Linked DNA regions of Homo sapiens: regions 2, 3, 4, 5, 6 and 7 are each linked to region 1. The links are contacts of gene promoters, found by promoter capture Hi-C in blood cells and fetal thymus (Javierre and others, 2016). All regions are on one chromosome and are shown on one strand. The core of a region is centred on a gene start or on the middle of the fragment in contact, and the rest is flanking DNA. Distances in the headings are between cores, read along the strand shown. Region 1 holds the start of TSHR (thyroid stimulating hormone receptor). Region 2 overlaps CEP128 (centrosomal protein 128). Region 3 overlaps TSHR (thyroid stimulating hormone receptor). Region 4 overlaps CEP128 (centrosomal protein 128). Region 5 overlaps TSHR (thyroid stimulating hormone receptor). Region 6 overlaps TSHR (thyroid stimulating hormone receptor). Region 7 overlaps TSHR-AS1 (TSHR antisense RNA 1).

Evidence for each region. Contacts are between HindIII fragments. The CHiCAGO score rates a contact against its expected background, and 5 or more counts as called.
Region 2: a contact is called between a fragment that was not itself captured here and the fragment with the promoter of TSHR in region 1, in 1 of 17 cell types (total CD8 T cells). The highest score is 5.6, in total CD8 T cells.
Region 3: a contact is called between a fragment that was not itself captured here and the fragment with the promoter of TSHR in region 1, in 7 of 17 cell types (monocytes, fetal thymus, naive B cells and 4 more). The highest score is 7.3, in monocytes.
Region 4: a fragment that was not itself captured here is called in contact with the fragment with the promoter of TSHR in region 1 in 1 of 17 cell types (fetal thymus); the score reaches 5.2 in fetal thymus.
Region 5: a contact is called between a fragment that was not itself captured here and the fragment with the promoter of TSHR in region 1, in 1 of 17 cell types (fetal thymus). The highest score is 7.1, in fetal thymus.
Region 6: a fragment that was not itself captured here is called in contact with the fragment with the promoter of TSHR in region 1 in 5 of 17 cell types (naive CD8 T cells, non-activated CD4 T cells, activated CD4 T cells and 2 more); the score reaches 5.6 in naive CD8 T cells.
Region 7: a contact is called between a fragment that was not itself captured here and the fragment with the promoter of TSHR in region 1, in 16 of 17 cell types (fetal thymus, naive CD4 T cells, total CD8 T cells and 13 more). The highest score is 24.7, in fetal thymus.

What each region holds. Positions count from the first base shown.
Region 1 is chr14:80,954,274-80,957,097 of GRCh38, forward strand. TSHR (thyroid stimulating hormone receptor) reads left to right here and starts at 1,348. Exons shown (of 10, transcript NM_000369.5): 1 at 1,348-1,577. The coding sequence starts at 1,408. It also overlaps a transcript of CEP128 not described here. The HindIII fragment of the contact is 2,816 bases long and covers 151-2,824 here.
Region 2 is chr14:80,737,522-80,740,221 of GRCh38, forward strand. The region is part of intron 19 of CEP128 (centrosomal protein 128); the gene reads right to left. Among named protein-coding and RNA genes, the nearest start is that of CEP128, 200 kb to the right of the region's middle. The HindIII fragment of the contact is 225 bases long and covers 1,224-1,448 here.
Region 3 is chr14:81,120,120-81,122,819 of GRCh38, forward strand. All of the region lies in intron 8 of TSHR (thyroid stimulating hormone receptor), which reads left to right. The region is part of intron 2 of TSHR-AS1 (TSHR antisense RNA 1); the gene reads right to left. Among named protein-coding and RNA genes, the nearest start is that of TSHR-AS1, 49 kb to the right of the region's middle. The HindIII fragment of the contact is 2,527 bases long and covers 138-2,664 here.
Region 4 is chr14:80,753,504-80,756,318 of GRCh38, forward strand. All of the region lies in intron 18 of CEP128 (centrosomal protein 128), which reads right to left. Among named protein-coding and RNA genes, the nearest start is that of CEP128, 190 kb to the right of the region's middle. The HindIII fragment of the contact is 2,033 bases long and covers 478-2,510 here.
Region 5 is chr14:81,091,253-81,094,231 of GRCh38, forward strand. TSHR (thyroid stimulating hormone receptor) reads left to right here. Exons shown (of 10, transcript NM_000369.5): 6 at 1,279-1,356. It overlaps TSHR-AS1 (TSHR antisense RNA 1), which reads right to left. Exons shown (of 9, transcript XR_007064290.1): 4 at 2,963-2,979; 5 at 2,330-2,485. Among named protein-coding and RNA genes, the nearest start is that of TSHR-AS1, 78 kb to the right of the region's middle. The HindIII fragment of the contact is 1,632 bases long and covers 714-2,345 here.
Region 6 is chr14:81,138,338-81,141,037 of GRCh38, forward strand. TSHR (thyroid stimulating hormone receptor) reads left to right here. Exons shown (of 10, transcript NM_000369.5): 9 at 1,342-1,530. The region is part of intron 2 of TSHR-AS1 (TSHR antisense RNA 1); the gene reads right to left. Among named protein-coding and RNA genes, the nearest start is that of TSHR-AS1, 31 kb to the right of the region's middle. The HindIII fragment of the contact is 6,888 bases long and covers 1-2,700 here.
Region 7 is chr14:81,156,824-81,159,857 of GRCh38, forward strand. All of the region lies in intron 2 of TSHR-AS1 (TSHR antisense RNA 1), which reads right to left. Among named protein-coding and RNA genes, the nearest start is that of TSHR-AS1, 12 kb to the right of the region's middle. The HindIII fragment of the contact is 239 bases long and covers 1,554-1,792 here.

The sequences.
Region 1 (2,824 bases), core at 98-2,597:
GAAAAAAAAAAAGAAAAGAAAATTTGTGCATGTTGTATCAGCAGTTCATTCATTTTTATTGCAGAATAGTATTCCAATGTGGAGGTATCAGAGTTTGTTTATCCATTATCTAGTCGCGAGACACTTGGTTCGTTTAGTGGTTATGAATAAAGCTTCTGTAAAATTTGGAATACACATATTTTAAATGTACGGTTTAATGAATTTTGATAAATGTATACATCCACTTAACCTCCAGCCTAATTACGATATGGAAACCCTGTGTGTTCCCTCCTGTCTTTTTCTAGTCAATCTTTCCTAACCTTTATTCTGATTCCCATAACCACAACTTTTTCCTTCCTGTCCTAGCCAAGTTCATATAAAAGGAATTATGCAGTATAGAAGGAATTGACATTCCTTTTATCCCAAGAGGAATAAGTGATTGAAGACTTTTAAGAAGGAAATAGGCACAATCTGATTTATGTTTGTAATGATCTTTTTGGCTACTGTGCGAAGAATGGTGAGTATGCCACTTAAGTATTATTTTTCTTCCCATCTTCCAGGGGGAATATGACTCAATGAAATTCTTGGGTCGACCAGAATTTCCATACTGGACCCATTATTAAGGGAACCTGGAATTATTTCTGCCATTCCCGATTCTTCCCAGCAGATGGCCCCAAAGTTCAGTTCCTGAATTGCCTCGCGGAGCCGCGGGCTGCAACGTGAGGCGGCCGCTGCCAGTCGACTCAACCACCGGAGTGGCCCCTGCAGTTGGATAGCAACGAGAATCCTCCAGGGGTGCAGGGCGACGGCTTCGGCCGCACCGCGGGCTAGCCAGGGCTGCGTGCCCGCCTCTGACCCTCAGCAGAGGTGTCTCTGGCCAGGAGGAGCTGAAGTTCTGCAGGACATTGGTCCGCCCGCGGACAGTCCACTCCGCGGGGACTTTCTCTGGATAAGGAGTGCGTGCGAGTGGCTCCCAGGCAGACAGGGTGTCTAGAAGGCTACACGCTAGGGAAGGTGGCTCCTTGGATTTAAAGAGGAGGAAAGGAGGGGGCATCTAAACTAGGCTTTGGAGAGAACTAATGGGAGGGGCGCCCGGGGTGGGGGGGCGGGCTGGAAAACAGAGGGGACAGCCAGGACTGGTGTTGGGTGTCAGGGAACAGACGGAGCGGACTGCGTGGGTCCAGCCAAGGAAAGTGAAGCAAGCAGACTTGTTTGGGTCAAGGTTGCCTAGGGAAGCGGAGCACTTAAGTGCCTCTTTTTCCCCTTCTCCAGCCTCCTCCACAGTGGTGAGGTCACAGCCCCTTGGAGCCCTCCCTCTTCCCACCCCTCCCGCTCCCGGGTCTCCTTTGGCCTGGGGTAACCCGAGGTGCAGAGCTGAGAATGAGGCGATTTCGGAGGATGGAGAAATAGCCCCGAGTCCCGTGGAAAATGAGGCCGGCGGACTTGCTGCAGCTGGTGCTGCTGCTCGACCTGCCCAGGGACCTGGGCGGAATGGGGTGTTCGTCTCCACCCTGCGAGTGCCATCAGGAGGAGGACTTCAGAGTCACCTGCAAGGATATTCAACGCATCCCCAGCTTACCGCCCAGTACGCAGACTCTGTGAGTACCCGGGAGAGATCAGGGTAGGACCCAGAGATCAAGGGCATCTGCAGAGGTGGCCCGAAGTGCACAAAAGCAGCTCAATAACAGCCCGAAGTAGTGTGTGAGTGTGTGTATGTGTGAGTGAATGTCTGTGTGTGTAGATGTGTGTGTGTGCTAAAAACTTAATCGCCCACACTTGGGAAGGTATCATTGTTGACATCCTCATTCCCAACACAGGAAAATGTTACAAAACTTTGGTGTACAATGACCGTGAGAGCTGTTCTTTCCAACAAGCTGCTATTCAGCACTTTGCCTAACCCTGGTTGAATCTGTTTTATTTGAATTAATAAGGATAATGGCATCTCAGGAACTGACCTTTTTGATCTTACCTTGGGTAATAAAAAATTGCAAAAATATGTATTTCTCCTTTTTGTTTCTCTAGATGGGAGGTTATCTTAGCAGTTCTGCTGATTCATCAAATTGTTGACAAAGGTTTAAGCAGGGGCCCTTTTTAAAATGAACTGTCTATACAGTATCTGTAAGTTACTTACTCAAATGTGAACTGCCAGTGAAATAGTACGTCCAGAACCCTGCTTTGTGATAGAGGTATAAAGAAATGAAATTTCATAAAAGTATAGTACATTTATCTGCATGTTAAATGTTACCAGATTAGAAACCTGATGTTAAATAAGATTATACACACACAACCTGTTTCTTAACAGCAATTTAAATCAGTGATCATTGAAATTGTAGACAAAACCAAGGGAATAAAGTCTGTCTTGATTAGTTAAAAAGAGAACAGAAAGAAAGGACAGTAAAACAACCTAGGCTGGTTAAATCCAGTTAAGATAAAAAAAAATGCAGGTTATTAAAGAAAATGTTGATAGATGAAAAGAAATGGGAAAGTTGCACCTCTAGATTTTCTCAAGAATTTAGCTCATGAAGACTATTTAACAGTAGATGAATATTTGAGCACAGAGATATATTTCTGTGCTCAGAGATATCCTAGTGTCTTAGCACACCTGAATTAATTAGTTCAATAACCTCCAAACAGTGTGGTAGTCATTCTCCATGCTGCCACCACAGAATAAGATGTGTAAAAGGTGTAATGGCCTCTTGATTACACCTCTACATAGGTTGCTTGTCACCTCTAGAATAAAATTCTTTTGTGCAGCCTACCAGATCTTTCAAGACCTAGTCAAGTCTTTCCAACCTCATTGCTCCTCATTTCTCTAACTTCCCCCTCCTGCTGAGAACTTCTGGCA
Region 2 (2,700 bases), core at 86-2,585, 220 kb before region 1:
CTTATTTTAATTATCTCTAATGATCTACACCATTGAACTTCTGAACAAGCTGGTCACAATGTAAAAATAAGATGCTAAGGCCAGGTGCACAGTTTCATGCCTGTAATCCCAGTAACTCAGGAAAACAAGGTCTAGGATTATTTAAGTCCAGGAGTTTGAGACCAGCCTGGGTAACCTAGCAAGACCTCATCTCTATACAAAAATTAAAAAATAAAAACATTAGCCAGGCATGGTGGCATGCACCTGTAATCCCAGCTACTCAGGAGTCTGAGATGGGAGGACTGCTTGAGCCTGAGGGGTCAAGGCCGCAGTGAGCCAAGATGGCGCCACTGCACTCCAGCCTGGGTGACAGAGCAAGACCCCATCTCAATCAATCAATCCGATGATAAATTCAATTTTAAAAAATTAACCAGAGTCCAAATAAATAAATGATATTACATTTAGAAATCATCCCATAAGTTACTTCAGAATGTTTAAATATTACACTCCAATATGGAATAGAAAAAACTTGCTTCTTCCTGTTTTGGGACTAAAGGACACTTCTATGAATATCATGATTCTAAATTATTTCTTCAGTAAGACAAATCTGAAAAACTGTGAAATGATTTGCAGAATAAGTGATAGACGAATGAGTGACTGGATGACTAGAAAAGTAAACCAATATATAAATAATGTATAAGCACAACATAAAGTCTAAACTACATGTTAGAAAAGATACCTACAGTTCGAGAGTCCCTCCGTTATTTCTGTCCCACAAATAAATTATAAGACATTATCCTCTGTTAACAGCAATTGACCACCAACTGTACAAGTAGCATAGAAATTCGAAGGATGAGCAGGGAAAAGCAGAAAAACCAGCTGAAAAGTTTCTCAGAACACTGGGAATGATGAAACCAAAGGAATAAACCATTAAAAAGTTGAGAACACTATTGACAGATCCAAAATCTATCACATTAGATTAAAATCAGATTTTTAGATAGAAAAAATCTAAGTCATACAGTAGTCTCCCCCCTATTTTTAGATAGAAAAAATCTAAGTCATACAGTTTCAATTTGGTTTCAATCACTGCCTGTCAACTGCAGTCCGAAAATAGGTAAGTACAGTATAATAAGACACCTAGTGACAGAGATCACATTCGAGTAACTTTTATTATACTATATTGTTATAATTGTTCTATTTTATTAATTATTATTAATGTTTTATTGTTTATAATTTATAAATTAAGCTTTATCATAGGTTTGTATGTATAGGAAAAAACAGTTCATATAGGGATTGGTACTACCTGCAGTTTCAGGCATCCACTAGGGTGCCTAAGTCTCCACACATAAGGGGAGTCTACTGCATCTCTTTATGCTCACAGCCATGTATATGGCCAGAATAATCAGTGAATAGTGTGCCAGATTCGCCACTAAGGTGGCTCTAATGCTTTGGATATACATCATATGACAAGCTTTATGCTTTGGAAGCAGGTTGCCAAAAATACTGATTTGGCAATCTGGCTTAAACCACTCCTAAGACTTCTACCAACGCAGGTCATGCCAAAGTTTTACATTGCAAATCCAGTGGCTACTTCTCATCCCTTCTCTCCTTTTCTCCAAATACTCATCCTTTCTTTGAGCATATACAAGGGATAGGGAGCTAATGTATCTTTCCTCTACTGCCTACTTCTAGACTATGTATATGTTCATCCTTTTTTTTGAGCTTATATAACACAAAGATTAGACCCAATTACAGATGCTAAGAAGCTACCCATCAAAATAAGAAAACCACTACAAAAATTATTGTGATAAGTGAATCTGCCAAATATACTAGCATATTCAAAACACTAAAAAGATCTTAAAAGAAGAAATCCCTAACTCTTTTGCCCTTGTTCTTTCCAACATTCACTTCTCTACCTTTACTTTTGACCTCATCCACCCGTATCTTCCAGGATCCTGCTATACCAGCTAAACTTCCACCTGTTCGACCTCTCCCATCAACAGCCCCTTCTACTCAACATACATAATCAGGCTCAAGCTTTTCTATGACTAGTAGTACATACAGAATCATACTCTAAAAGTTATAGTCATTCTACTCTTAAAGACTGAGACTATTTTAGACACAAAGTTTTAATATTCTTTTTTTTTGATATTTTGGTATTTTGAATTTTTTTCACGTTACACTAGAGAGTTAAATCATAGTATACAATAGGGCTAGAATTAATACTAACAATGTTATTGTGTCCCTAAATGAATCAGGAAGCTCTTAGAGGATACCGTCACGAAATGAATAAAATATAAACTATTTAAATATTGCTACCATAAAATGTAATACATAACTGAAATATTAGAAAAGACAAATACTGTTACCTAATTCCAGAGTGTCATAAACAATATGTAAACCACTCTAATTAAATTACTTAATCAACTTCTGCCAAATATTTGCTGATTTTTATTTTGGTTATTCAGAGTTTAATAAGTATCCAATAAATTTCAAAACAGGGAAAAATAAATAAATTTGGGCCAATGGCAAGATATCATCTCTGTCTTTCTAAATCTAAACTTTGGGGAAAAACTATGCTTTCTTTTGGAAGAGTGATTTTTTTTTTCACTAAATATTAGTATTATGGCTCCCCTATTAACTGTGCTCCTTTAGTGTTCTTTCATTACTTCCCTCATTCATTCAGTTGTTCAACAAATATTTCACACGTCTACTGTGCAC
Region 3 (2,700 bases), core at 151-2,650, 170 kb after region 1:
GTATACATATGTAACTAACCTGCACAATGTGCACATGTACCCTAAAACTTAAAGTATAATAATAAAAAAAATAAAAAAATAAAAAAGAATCACTGATAGTCTCCCAAAGTCACCATGGTAATGCCCACCAGCCAATAAGCTTCCACACACAGAGCTTCCCATAGGCCTCCCTTACAAACAAGAACAGACATCCAAGAACCAGCAGACCTTCGAGGAAATCCATTGACATGAAAAACGTCAATGTCTTAGAGTTTTCAGTGTACAGATCTTTCACCTCCTTGGTTTAAATTTATTCCTAGTTTTTGTTTTGTTTTGATGCCATTATAAATGGGATTGTTTTCTTTGTTTCTTTTTCTGATAGCTTATTGTTTGTTTATAGAAACACAACTGATTTTTGTAGGTTGACTTTGTATCCTGTAACTTTACTGAATTCATTTCTTAGTTCTAACAGGTTTTTGGTGGAGGCTTTCTGATTTTCTGTATAAGATAATGTCATCCGCACTCAGAAACAGTTTCTCTTCTTTCTTTAGGATTTGGATGCCGTTTATTTGTATTGCCTAATTGTTCTAACTAGGACTTCCAGTACTATGTTGAATAGATGTGGTGACATGAAAAACAAGGACTAAAATAAACAGAAAAAGGAACTTGGAAGGAACAGAAACAATGCAAGAACCAGAAGAAAACTTTCATGAAAGTTATAACAAATATCCTCAGAGAGACAATGTTTTACATGTGCAAAACAATTCCTTATACAGGAATATTCAGAAAACAATAAAAGAGCTTTTGAAAATTAAAAACATGAAAGCCAAAACCAAAAAAGTAAGCAGAAGTTGTTAAAGATAAAGGGAAAAATGGCACTCAGTAGAGACAGCAAAAAAATATGAAATAGAGGAAAGAAAAAACATGAACATTAGAAATTCAAGCCACGAGGTCCACAACCCAACTAACAAAAGTTTTAGGAAGAGAAAACAAAAACTGAAAAATAGTGTAGCAGATTTCCCATTAATAAAGAAAATGAATTTTCAGAATAAAAAGACCCACGGAGAACCCATATGGCAAAAAAAAAGGGTGGGGAGGCATGAAGGTACATCATAAAACATGAAATCAATGGGATAAAAATAATAAATTAAAGGCGTCTAGACAGAGAAATCATGTGGCCTGTGCAGGTGGGAGAATCGGAATGCCCTCAGCCTTCTCAATGGCGACATTGAAGAAGACCATAGATAGAATACACCTGTTGAATTCTGAAGGGAAAGTCATTTCCAAACTACCAATCAAGTATGATTGATAAAATAAAGATATTTTCTCACATGCAAAATCTCAAAACCTTGATTTCCTGTTCACCTTTTCTTGGAGAATAAACCAGGAAAAAGAAAAATGAGGACTTTGTTAAAACAGTGATCAACACAGGAAAGAAGCAAATAGAATCCCCAGGATGACCACAAAGGGAGGTCTGAGGAATCTTGGGAACATGATGTCTACATCAGAGCTGAAGAATGAAGACTCCAAGAGGAAGGTCTTCTAGAAATAAAAGAGGGTTGGCTGGGCACGGTGTATCATGCCTGTAATCCCAGCACTCTGGAAGACAGAAGCAGGCGGATCACTTGAGGTCGGGAGTTTGAGGTCGGCTTAGCCAACATGGTGAAACTCCATCTCTACTAAAAATACAAAAATTAGCCAGGCATGTTGGTGCATAATTGTAGTCCCAGCTACTTGGGAGGCTGAGGTAGGAGAATCGTTTGAACCCAGGAGGCGGAGGCTGCAAGTGAGCCGAGATTGCACCACTGCACTCCAGCCTGGGAGACAGAGCAAGACTCTGTCTCAAAAAAATAAAAGGATTGATAGATTATTTGATGGAATTCATTGTGTGAAAAACTGGTTTGAGATGTGTTTTCTTTTCCTTTTTTTTTTTTTTTTTTTTTTTTTTTTTTTTTTTTTTTTTGAGACGAAGTCTTGCTCTGTCACCCAGGCTGGAGTGCAATGGTGCGATCTCAGCTCACTGCAATCTCCACCTCCCGGGTTCAAGCAATTCTCCTGCCTCAGCCTCCCAAGTAGCTGGGATTACAGGTGCCAACACCATACCTGGCTAATTTTTGTATTTTTAGTAGAGATGGGGTTTCACCATGTTGGCCAGGCTGGTCTCGAACTCTTGACCTCAGGCGATCCACCTGCCTAGGCCTACCAAAGTTCTGGGATTATAGGTGTGAGCCACCGCTCCTGGCCTTGAGAGGTGTTTTAAAGAACATTGGAGCATGTAGAAAACTTAGCAAGAGGTTTGTTCAAACAAAGACACCCAAATAAAAAGAGAGAGACAGATGGACATCTTATGAAAAAAAAAACAAACAGTTACATGACAAAGGAAATGAAAGCGCAATATGCAAAGTTGCAATAACCACAGTACTGAATATGGGTTTAACCAAATATGTCACAAAACTATTTCAGGAGAGTAGAAGAGTGTGTCAGGAGAGGAAATGTGTAGGGGTGAGGGATGATAAAAGAAAGCCAAATCCTCATCTTCTATAGTAGAGAGTTAGCGGATAAAACCTAAAAACAATACATCAAGAAATACTTACACTTATGGAAGGAAATACCAGAAGTTAAAAGGGGTTACTTCTGGGACATCAGACACCAGACTGCAGGGAAGGGCTGCCTCTTGTATTAACAAGCTTCCAGTATAATTTGCTTTTTAAAAATAGGTCC
Region 4 (2,815 bases), core at 244-2,743, 200 kb before region 1:
AATAATGTAACATGTGGGCTCAACAGTGATTATCTCTAGTATGTGAGTCCATCCTGAGAGTGCTGGCCTGCGCTAGATTTGACATGTTATCCCTACCGTCTCAATGTGAATATCTTTGGTACTTCTCACTTCTTGCCATGATGTGAACAAAAACTGTGATCTGTGTCTTTGTCCTTGCTTCTCTTGGGGCCTTCCTGTCCAAATAGAAGTTTCTGACTATCAGTCTCTCTGGTGGAAACTCTTTCAATACTGCCACGAATTTGCCTATCTGGGACACTACATGATCATTTATTCAGATACCAATCCCTGACTACTTTGGCTAGAAAATCCTGGAAATCTCTTTCTCCATTACCCTAGAATATAACATCTCTCATCATGTGTATGCTGTCAACAAAATTACTCCAGTCTGTCCTTTCCTCTGAATGTTTGAACAATTTTCTTAATTCAGACTCTCACTCTATCTCACTGTATGGGAAAAGCTTCTTAACTGGTTTCTCTACCTCAAATCTTACCAACTCTAATCTACCTTTCACCTCACTACCAAAATATAAATATAAGCATGCCATTCTCCTGTTCAAAACTCCTTTGTGATTCTCCATGCAATGTAGATCTGAATCCAGGATCCTCAAAATGGCAAACAATGCTCTACTGGATGAACTTAATCCCTCTGGAGCCCCATCCCCTGCCATTCTCTGTGTCATACCTTCATATTTTACTATTGCTAAATCATTTGAGTGTTCTTTGCATTCATCAAATTGCTTCTGTTCTGTGCCTTTCCTAGAACTTTGTTCTTTGCATGTTTGCTCTTTGCTCTTTACCTGGATGGTTTCAATATTCATCTGGGACATCAGCCTCCATGGCAGCTTCTGCATACTTCTATTACAGCTCCTGCTTGTAAGACTGAAATTATCTGCATATTGTCTGTCTTTCCTAAAGACCAGGACAATGTCCTGTTCTTTTTTTTTTTTTTTTTTTTTTGAGATGGAGTCTTGCTCTGTCACCAGAATGGGGTGCAGTGGCACAATCTTGGCTCACTGCAACCTCTGCCTCCTGGGTTCAAGCAATTTGCCTGCCTCAGCCTCCCGAGTAGCTGGGACTGCAGGCACGTGCCACCATGACCGGCTAATTTTTTGTATTTTTAGTAGAGACAGGGGTTCACCGTGTTAGCTAGGATGGTCTCAATCTCCTGACCTCATGATTCCCCCTACCTCGGCCTCCAAAAGTGCCGGAATTACAGGCGTGAGCCACTGTGCCCGGACGTCTTGTTCATTTTTTATGCCCACAGCATGTAACAGCATCTGAGACGTAGTAGTTTCTCAGTAAATTCCATTAAGCTGAAGAAAACATGGCCTTACCATACCTTGTTAGAACTTGTTACAAAAACATACCCCTCATCTACGGAAACTGCTTACCTGGCATTCCTTAATGACCATGTGATGGTTAACACTGAGTGCCAAACTGATTAGACTGAAGGATACAAAGTATTGAGCCTGGGTGTGTCTGTGAGGGTGTTTCCAAAGGAGATTAACATTTGAGTCAGTGGGCTGGGAAAGGCAGACTCACCCTTAATCTGGGTGGGCACAATCTAATCAGCTGCCAGTGTGGCTGAAATATAAGGAGGCAGAAAAATATGAAAAGACAGACTGGTCGAGCCTCCCAGCCTACATTTTTCTCCCATGCTGGATGCTTCCTGCCCTTGAACATTGGACTCCAAGTTTTTCAGTTTTGTAACTTGGACTGGCTCTCCTTGCTCCTCAGCCTGCAGATGGCCTATTGTGGAACCTTGTGATCATGTGAGTAAATACTTATAAACTCCCCTTTAAAAATAGATCTATTCCATTAGTTCTGTCCCACTGGAGAACCCTGACTAATACAGACCATCTCAACCCTCTTCCTTCCTGTAATTTCTTATTATTACCATTCATTAGCTATTTTACCTGTAAGTATAGTCCAACTCTCAATTGGACTTCATAATTTTATTATGCCACCAGTGCCAACAAAGCAACTGTGTGCAATCCCCACCCAATCCTTGTTTTCTAGAATTAACACTAACAGAACAAATTCATTTGGTAGATTTATGAAAACAATTACTGAATGCCCTCAGAGGTCCTTCTAATACTGCAAGACGTCAGAATGGACTATCTGAAGAGCAATTCTACTTTCCATATAGTTTTTTGTCCTCTGATTTCAGATCTTATCTTCAATACTTATAGAGCTGTCCAGTCATAGTTCATGGGAATTATAGTACTGTAGCCCATCAATAACCTAACCCATCTTTCTAGCAAATAGATTCAATTCCCCCTTAGTCAGTTGGTCAGTGTGGTATTTTTCATCACAACCCGTTTACACTGTAGAAGGAACAGTTGTCTCATGCAGTAATAGAAGGGGTCTGATCAGAAGTTCAATCCCATTAAATGATAAGGGAAAACTGCTCACAAGCTCCCAAATTAAAGAGCTATGATTAAGAATCATCTGTGGCTCTCATAGTTTAACTGAACTACTGCAGTGAAAGCTTTCTGTTCAGAAATGATAAAGATTTTAACTTGAAAGAAAATTCTAAGTACATTGCTCTTGTTGTCAGAATTGTAAAGCTGAGGAAAAGAAAAATGAGAAACGCAATATTAATGCACAACAGAAATTTCTGGCCAAAACATTCTGAGACAGCAAAACGTGTATTCTAAATTCCCTATTCAGGTGGCATAAATACAAATTTGTATTTGTTTCTATCAAAAATGGCTAGAAATGCACAGGTTCACTGTTGTTAAAGTCTAATGCTCAATCACTATACTTTCATTTTCTTGTTAAGAATGCTTTG
Region 5 (2,979 bases), core at 280-2,779, 140 kb after region 1:
GTAAGCAATGATCAGGTGTGACTACACTGGCATGAAGTAAGGCAAGGACTGAGAAATAACCACTGGCTTTAGCAATGTGGTTTGTTGGTGACTCTGCCAAGAACAGTTCCAGTGGAGTGCTGGTTGGAGTGGGCTCAAGAGAGACTTGGGTAGACAGAATTAGAAAGAGTTACCATAATTAACTCTTTTGAGAGGTTTTACTATTAAAAGGAGCAGAAAATAGCTCAGTAATTGCAAGATATTGAGTCAGGAGAAAAGATTTTGTTTGTGTGTTTTTGTTTTTAAATGGAAGAAATTATGCAATGTTTCTTTGCCAATGGGAATGGTTGAATAGAAGGAATATTTGATGATAACTATGATACCTTATTTTTCATAGAGTTTTAATAGTTTTTTAAACACTTTCCCACACATGACATTTGCTCCTCTCAGCCACCTTATAAGGTGTAAAACAAAGTTACTGCTTTTCCATTTATGAATGAGGAAACTGAGGAATAGAAACCTCAAGTGATTTTGTCTGAGCAGTGTCTCAAGGAACAGTCAGAAGTGGTACTCAAATTACTGCCTGTGACCTTTGATTGGCACCCATGTGCCCTTTTTCAAAGCTGGTGACATGGGTCAGTTGTCTTACTAATTGTATAGGAATGAAAGGACGTAAGGCAGAGAGAATTACAAGTTGAGTTTGCATTAAAGAGTCAGCAAAATGTAGAATGATAAGCTTCAAACTCTTGGGGTTTTGCTAGAAAAAAAAATTGATCATACTTCTTTGTTGCAAAAGAGCTCAGTTCAAAATGTAAGCAATCTTCCAGAAACTAGAATGGCGTAGAAAGGTTCTCCAGGAGCCTGGCGAAGTTTGGCAAGTGAAGGACATTTTAGAAATACTCATTAAATGAAATCCTTTAATCCTTTTATCCTGACCTTCTTAAAGGTCCATGCATGTAGAAAACTCTAGTTGTTGTGGACAAAGTGTTGCAGATTCGGGAGAAGCCTCTCAAATCCATCTGCCTACCCCAAGATGAGGATTAAGTCAGGGACCTCCACCCACACCTAAAGCTCTCACTTACCCCACATTTGGGCTCCAGGTGCATGTCATCTAGGACAGCTCTCACCACCTCACCAGACCTCTGAGCCACTAGCGGTTAAGAAGGGTCAGTGAAACTTAAAAAGAAATAAGATTAAGCTATATTGTGTCCTGTTATTTAAGTGCATATGCGCAGCAAGACCCCTGCTGCAGAAGGAAAGCATTTTTTCATTAAGTGTTTTTGTCCCTCTCTCTTGCAGTGAAATTACAGACAACCCTTACATGACGTCAATCCCTGTGAATGCTTTTCAGGGACTATGCAATGAAACCTTGACACTGTGAGTATTACCAGTTCTACTCCCTCCATCAACTAAATTCTATTTTGAGCCATTTTCATATGTTTACAGACCATCCAAGAGCCATACTGCCTTATCATATATACTCTATAGAGTACAAAGTGTTTTACACAATTAAATAATAGTATTGTCTTATGGGATGGTACTCTGTAGACTACAAAACAGTTTAGGTAACAAGACAAGAGGATTCCATTACGGCAGTGGTTGGTACATTTTTCACGTGAAGAACCAGTTAGGCATTACAGACCATGCAACCTCTGTAGGAACTGGTCAACTCTGGCATTGTGTGGCAAAAACCGCAGTACTCAATATATACACTAATGAGCATGTCTGTGTTCCAATAAAACTTTATTTATAGAAAGAGGCAGTGGACTAGATTTGGCCTGCAGGCCTTATGGAATAATCATCTGTATCCAAGTGTCCCCATTCTACAGAAGAAGAACTGGGGTTTAAGCAAATTGAAGTGACTTACCCAAGATCACTGAGTTAAAAAAAAGTGGTGCCACTAAGAACTTTATAAATTCTGCACTCACACTTTTACTCAGTAATCACAAACTGTTATTAAGCTCCTGTAAGGGGATATTACATAGAAAGCATAGTGCTGCTATAGGTCAGCATTTTTCCAGAGCCTGAATGGGGGCAAAGCCCTTTAGATGGTCAAAAGTAGATGCTTAATTAGGGATATTCACAAAATGTTCTAAAGGAGAAGATCTAATAGAGGTATAAAGGATAAGTTAATTCTCCAAGCTGGTAGAAAGTTCCTCTCTCATTGTGTAAGTCACAAAGTAGAGTTGGAGCTACCTCTGCAGGGTCTCCTCTCTATTTTCAGGACCACTGCCCAAGTTCAAGCCTGGTGAAGTTTTTGTCTGGATTGTCACCCCAGTTTCATTTCTCTGCTCACACTAAAGTTGGGGTGGAGGTCTTTATCAGATACAAACCTGATCAAATTACTCACCAGAAAAATGGATCCAAGCTTCATACAGTTCTTCTAAGGGGCTATTTTCTGAGCCATTCCTAGTTTATCAGTTTGGGCCCAATGAAGTTACCTCAACTTCTGAGAGCAATGGAGCATTTCAGATGATCCTTCTCATCACAACCTGGTGAGCGGTCCCTTGAAAAGACAAAGGAGGCTCCTTCTCAGTCATAATTTCTTCTTACCATGCAGAAAAGGCCCAGGCTCTTAGCCTGCTCAGCTCCAAACTTCAAAGCCATTTACTTCCTCAGTAAAGCTTTCCATTGCGCCATATAGTGCTCATCATAAGGAAACTCCTACATGCTAAACTTCTTTATAGAATATTACCTCTACCCCTTGACACCATTTCTCTAAAACCCCCATATCTCAAGCACCCCCCTCAAGTGAAAGCTCATTGTCCCACACCTAGCATAGAGCCCAGCATGTGTTTCTAGAAACATCTGAGTGAGGGAAGCCCATATTTCCTAAAATATAGAGGAGAGGATGGCATGGATTATTCATGATCTTTTCAGATGATTATTTCTACATTTTGGCAAAAGTCCTTGCTTCTTCGAAGCTCAGGCTCAAAAAACTATCAACTTGAAAAGACACATGTTCCAACAACCGACTTTGTACCTGTATTCCTGGTAGGA
Region 6 (2,700 bases), core at 164-2,663, 180 kb after region 1:
GTGCCACCATACCCGGCTAATTTTTGTGTTTTTAGTAGAGATGGGGTTTCACTATGTTGGCCATGCTGGTCTTGAACTCCTGACCTCGTGATCCGCCCGCCTCAGCCTACCAAAGTGCTGGGATTACAGGCGTGAGCTACCGCACCCAGCAGCACCAAGGGTAATTCTTACCAGCAGACCAGTTTGGAAAATGCTAGATTATATATTTTTTTAATTAAATACAAAACAAAATAGCAACTGCACCAACCCTTTCCTCACAAGAGTAACAGTCCTGTGGTGAGAATGGGGTTAATACATGAGCTTTAAGTTCTGACGGCCTTGAACCTTGAGAATGTAAACCCCAGCTAAGTCCAATTACAACGATGTGGGGGGAGGAAATGGAAAATAATGGAATTCACTAGCTAATTGGATACTATTAATTATATTAAATATTTTAAATGGAATTATCTTCTATGAGGAATATTTTAATTGACAAAATATAAAATAGGAGGGATATTAGGTTAAATATTCATGGCCTTATTCAAGCTATTAATGGTGCCAATAAAAATGATGGAGCAAGACATGGAACCTGGACTCTCTGGGATTCAGAAAAGAGCAGAGAATGCCACACTAATGCCACGAATTCATTCTATTTTAGTAACTAACACTGATGTCTACATGTTCCCAGCCTGACCACCACCCCCCTCACCCCATTGTTCTCAGAAGTGATTTGAATCTGATTTCACATTGTTAATATCAACACTTGAGTTTTCTTTCCAAGAATCAATTTACAGTCTTCTAAAGACACTGGAGTGGCGGGGGATGGGGGGAAATGTTGTCAGTCATGAATTCCCAATGTAACTGGTTATGACTCTGAGGTCTGCATCATTATCAGATTTTCATGATACTGATGTTGATTCATATCAGTGAGCAGTTTATCAGTCCCCAAACTCTAGTCCCCACAGCAGCTGATAGCAAAGTAGTCCCCTTCGTCTCTGTTCTACTTCATTTCTCTTGCCTCTTGAGACCCTTTCATAGTCACATGGTGGCATGTTGCAGAGTAAAATTGACATCTCTCTCTGATTCCAAGAGTTTGCATGTATTGTGATGGATAGAATAAAATGACTGTGGAAATAGCATTTGTACTACTGGATACTGGAATTCCAAGGAGTTCCTATAACACAGGCTTAGAAGCCTAATATCCATCCCTCCTTAGACCAGAAGCTCAGCTTATGTACTCAGTAGAAGAAAGGAGCATATCATCTCCCAATTAACCTCAGGCCTGTTTGAGTTTCTGGCCAAGGCTGAGAAGGCCCTGGCTGCTCACTGCCTCTCTGCATTTTTCTGTTCTCTGCCTCCCAGGGACGTGTCTCAAACCAGTGTCACTGCCCTTCCATCCAAAGGCCTGGAGCACCTGAAGGAACTGATAGCAAGAAACACCTGGACTCTTAAGAAACTTCCACTTTCCTTGAGTTTCCTTCACCTCACACGGGCTGACCTTTCTTACCCAAGCCACTGCTGTGCTTTTAAGAATCAGAAGAAAATCAGAGGGTAAGTGGCAGGGACCCGGCATAAGTGACAAAAGACCTTGGTGGAAGTGGAATTCATTTCTTGGTTTTGGGGAAGATGCTTCCTGGTTTGAAAACCAGGTGGAGAGGAAATTGGAAGCATCCATATGAAACAGGAAATCCATGGGACACAGTGACCCTGCGGACCCAAAGTGGGTGCAGCTGAGAAATAAGGCAATTGCTGCTGGATAGCGGTAGAGCAGAGGAGGTGACAGATGGCACAGGAGAGAGAAACACAACCAGATCTCATAGAATCTTGTAGAGGTTATGTAGATATGATGTCCGGTTTCCAGGTACAATTCAGAATTAGATACTGCAACACATATTAGACCCCAGACACCACAACCATGAGAACAGACTTATAAACAACACAAACAGTTGGGTTACCTGATTGGTTTGGGCCTTGCAAATGTCATAGCTCCCTGGTTACATGCCTGCAGGCTTTGGAGTCAGCTGGGTTTATACCGCAGCTCTGCCATTTTTCAAGCTGTGTTATCCCAGCCTAGTTACTTAACCACTCTGAGTCTTTGGGAATGGAGATCCTAATACTAACATTCATAGCAGTTTTGAGAAGATTAAATGAGAAACTGAATGGAAAACACTGGAATGGAATGGCCTGGAATATTATAAGATCTTCATTAATATTAACTATGATATACAGTATGTGCACATCAGGCTGCTTATGAGCCTGCGAAGGAGGAATTGCCTTCATTTTCTCTCCAGGCTTTCTCTGATTCTTTTACTTTTTTGCTTTTACTCTGCATTATTTCCCCCATTGTGTCTTGTACAATCTCCTGTTCTCCTAATCCACCTTCATCATCTCTATTCAGTCCTCCTCAGCTTCTATGTATTTAGTGATTGACTTACTACACACATAATTGCAGTCAGGAAAATATCAGATCTAGGTGTGAGGGCAGAAGCTAAAACAGCCATACAAAGAAGGCCAATATGGTGGCCGGGCACAGTGGCTCACGCCTGTAATCCCAGCACTTTGGGAGGCTGAGATGGCCAGATCATCTGAGGTCAGGAGTTCGAGACCGGCCAGGCCAACATGGTGAAACCCCGTCTGTACTAAAAATACAAAAAACAAAATTAGCCAGATGTGGTGGTGGGTTCCTGTAATCCCAGCTACTGGAGAGGCTGAGGCAGAAGA
Region 7 (3,034 bases), core at 423-2,922, 200 kb after region 1:
GTATTCCTGGTCCTCTCACCCTGCTCTATTTTCCTCTTTTTTTCTACTGTACTTACCACTTCCTAATATACTAGTTTATTTATCATGTTATAATAAACATAATGGGACATAAGCTCCACAAAGGCAGACATTTTTGTCAGTTATATTCACTGGTGCATCCCAAGAGCCTAGAACAATCCCTGGCACATAGTATGTGCTCAATAAATACGTGCTGGATTTGAATTGAATTTCTGATATATTATTTTTCATGTCTATGAAATGTTTAATTGATGCTGAGCCCTTAAAAATGTATCCTCCCCCAAACCAAACATCATATGTTCTCACTTATAAGTGGGAGCTAAGCTATGAGGATGAAAGGCATAATAATGATATAATGAACTTTGGGGACTCAGGGGGAAGGGTTGGGAGGTGGGTGAGGGATTAAAGAGTACACACCAGGTACAGTGTACACTGCTTGAGTGACGGGTACACAAAGATCTCAGAAATCATCACTAAACAACTTTCCCATGAAATCACCACTAAACAACTTTTCCATGCAACCAAACACTACCTGTTCCCCAAAAACTATTGAAATTTTAAAAAAAATGTGTCCTCTCAAATATAATAGCTTACCCCTGGTAGAGCATGAACATTTGACAATTTTCTGTTTTATGATATAGTCATCCTCTGTAGTTAAAAATTAGACATGGCCTTATATAAATTCTTACCGATCATTAAAAAAGAGTCCACTGTCCATCATTTTCTCTGTAAGAAGCCTATTCATTGAGTCATCTATCTTACAGTAAGGAAGCACTTGTGGTTACAAGCTAAAAACTCCTGCAATTCAGTAAAACTCAGTCTCAACTTCCCATTTAAAAGCCCAGAGAACTAGTCATCTACATGCAAGAAAGTGTTTGAATTGAGCATTTGTTTGACTTGTATTCATTTATTGAGTACCTTCTGCAAGCAGAGCATATACATCAGAATTTTTTTAACTGTGTCCCAGACTTTAAAAAAACTTTGAATCTAGAGAGGAAGATATATGTGTCACCACAGTATAAAAATTATTACAGTTTCTGAATGTTACTACAGAGCAGTGTTACTCCATAGAAATCTATCCTAAGCAAAAAGAACAAAGCTGGAGGCATCACACTACCTGACTTCAAATTACACTGCAAGGCTATTATAACCAAAACAGCATAGTACTGGTACATACATAGACACATAGATCAATGGAACAAAATAGAGAATCCAGAAATGAAGCCACATACCAACAATCCAACTTATCTTCAATAATGCTAACAAGAAGTTACACTGGGCAGAGGACTCTCTTTTCAATAAATGGTGCAGGAAAAATTGGATAACCACATGTGGAAGAATGAAACTTGGCCCCTATCTCTCACCCTATAAAAAAAAATTAACTCAAGAAGGATTAAAGACTTAAACATAAAACCTGAAACCATAAAAATCCTAGAAGAACACCTAAGAAAAACTCTTCTAGATATTGGCCTACGCAAAGAATTCATGACTAAGACGTAACAAAAACAGAAAAATGAAACTTAATTAAACTAAAAAGCTTCTGCACAACAAAAGAAATAATCAACAGAGTAAACAGTCTACAGAAAGGGAGAAAATATTTGCAAACTATGCATCCAACAAAGGACTGATACCCAGAACCTACAAGGAAAAACTTAATAAGAAAAAAAGCACTTGTATTACAAACCAAAAACCCCTGCCATTCACCAAAACTCAGTGTCAACTTTCCATTTAAAAGCTCAGAGGTCATTCACATGCAAGAAAAACTGTTAAATTAAGCTTTTTCATTTTTTTTTCTTTTTGTTTTTTGTTTTTGTTTTTTTTTTTTTTGAGACAAGGACTCATTCTGTCACCCACCGCAACCTCCACCTCCCAAGTTTAAGCAATCCTCCCACCTCAACCTCCTGAGTAGCTGGGACTACAGGAGAGCACCATCATGCCCAGCTAATTTTTTGTACTTTTTTGTAGAATGGGGTTTCGCCATGTTGCCCAGGCTGGTCTCAGAACTCCTCGACTCAAGCGATCCGTCCGCAGCAGCCTCTCAAAGTGCTGGAATTACCAGCATAAGCAACCATGGCCTGCCTGAACTGAGCTTTTGTTTGGCTCAGTTCAACAAGAAAAAAACAAATAACTCCATTTAAAAGTGGGCAAAGGATGGCCAGAGACGGTGGCTCACGCCTGTAATCCCAGCACTTTGGGAGACCGAGGCAGGTGGATCACCTGAGGTCGGGAGTTCAAGACCAGCCTCGCCAATATGGTGAAACCCCGTCTCTACTAAAAATACAAAATTAGCCGGGCGTGATGGTGCACATCTGTAATCCCAGCTGCTCCGGAGGCTGAGGCAGGAGAATCTCTTAGAACCTAGGAGGTGGAGATTGCAGTGAGCCAAGATCACACCACTGCACTCCAACCTGGGCAACAAAGGAAGACGCTGTCTCAAAAAAAAAAAAAAGAAAAGAAAAGAAAAGTGGGCAAAGGACATAAACAATGAACAGACATTTCTTCAGACATACAAGCAACCAACAAACATGAAAAATGTTCAACATCACTAATCATCAGAGAAATGCAAATTAAAGCCACAATGAGATACCATCTCACACCAGTCATAATGGCTATTAATTAAAAAATCAAAAAACAGCTGATGTTGCCAAGGATGTGGAGAAAAACAAACGCTTATACATTGTTGGTGGGAATACAGAAAAAGTATGGAGATGTCTCAAAGAACTAAAAGTAGAACTACCATTTGACCCACCAATCCCACTGAGTACCTACTCAAAGGAATAGAAATCATTCTATCAAAAAGATGCCTGCACTCTGTGTTTATCACAGCACTGTTCACAATAGCAAAGGCATGGAATCACCCTAACTGTCCATCAACAAATGATTGGAGAAAGAAAATATGGTATACATGCATCATGGAATACTATGCTGCCCTAAAAAAGAATAAAAGCAGGTCTTTTGCAGCAATATGGATGGAGCCGGAGGCCACCATCCTAAGTGAAATAACTCAGAAACAGAA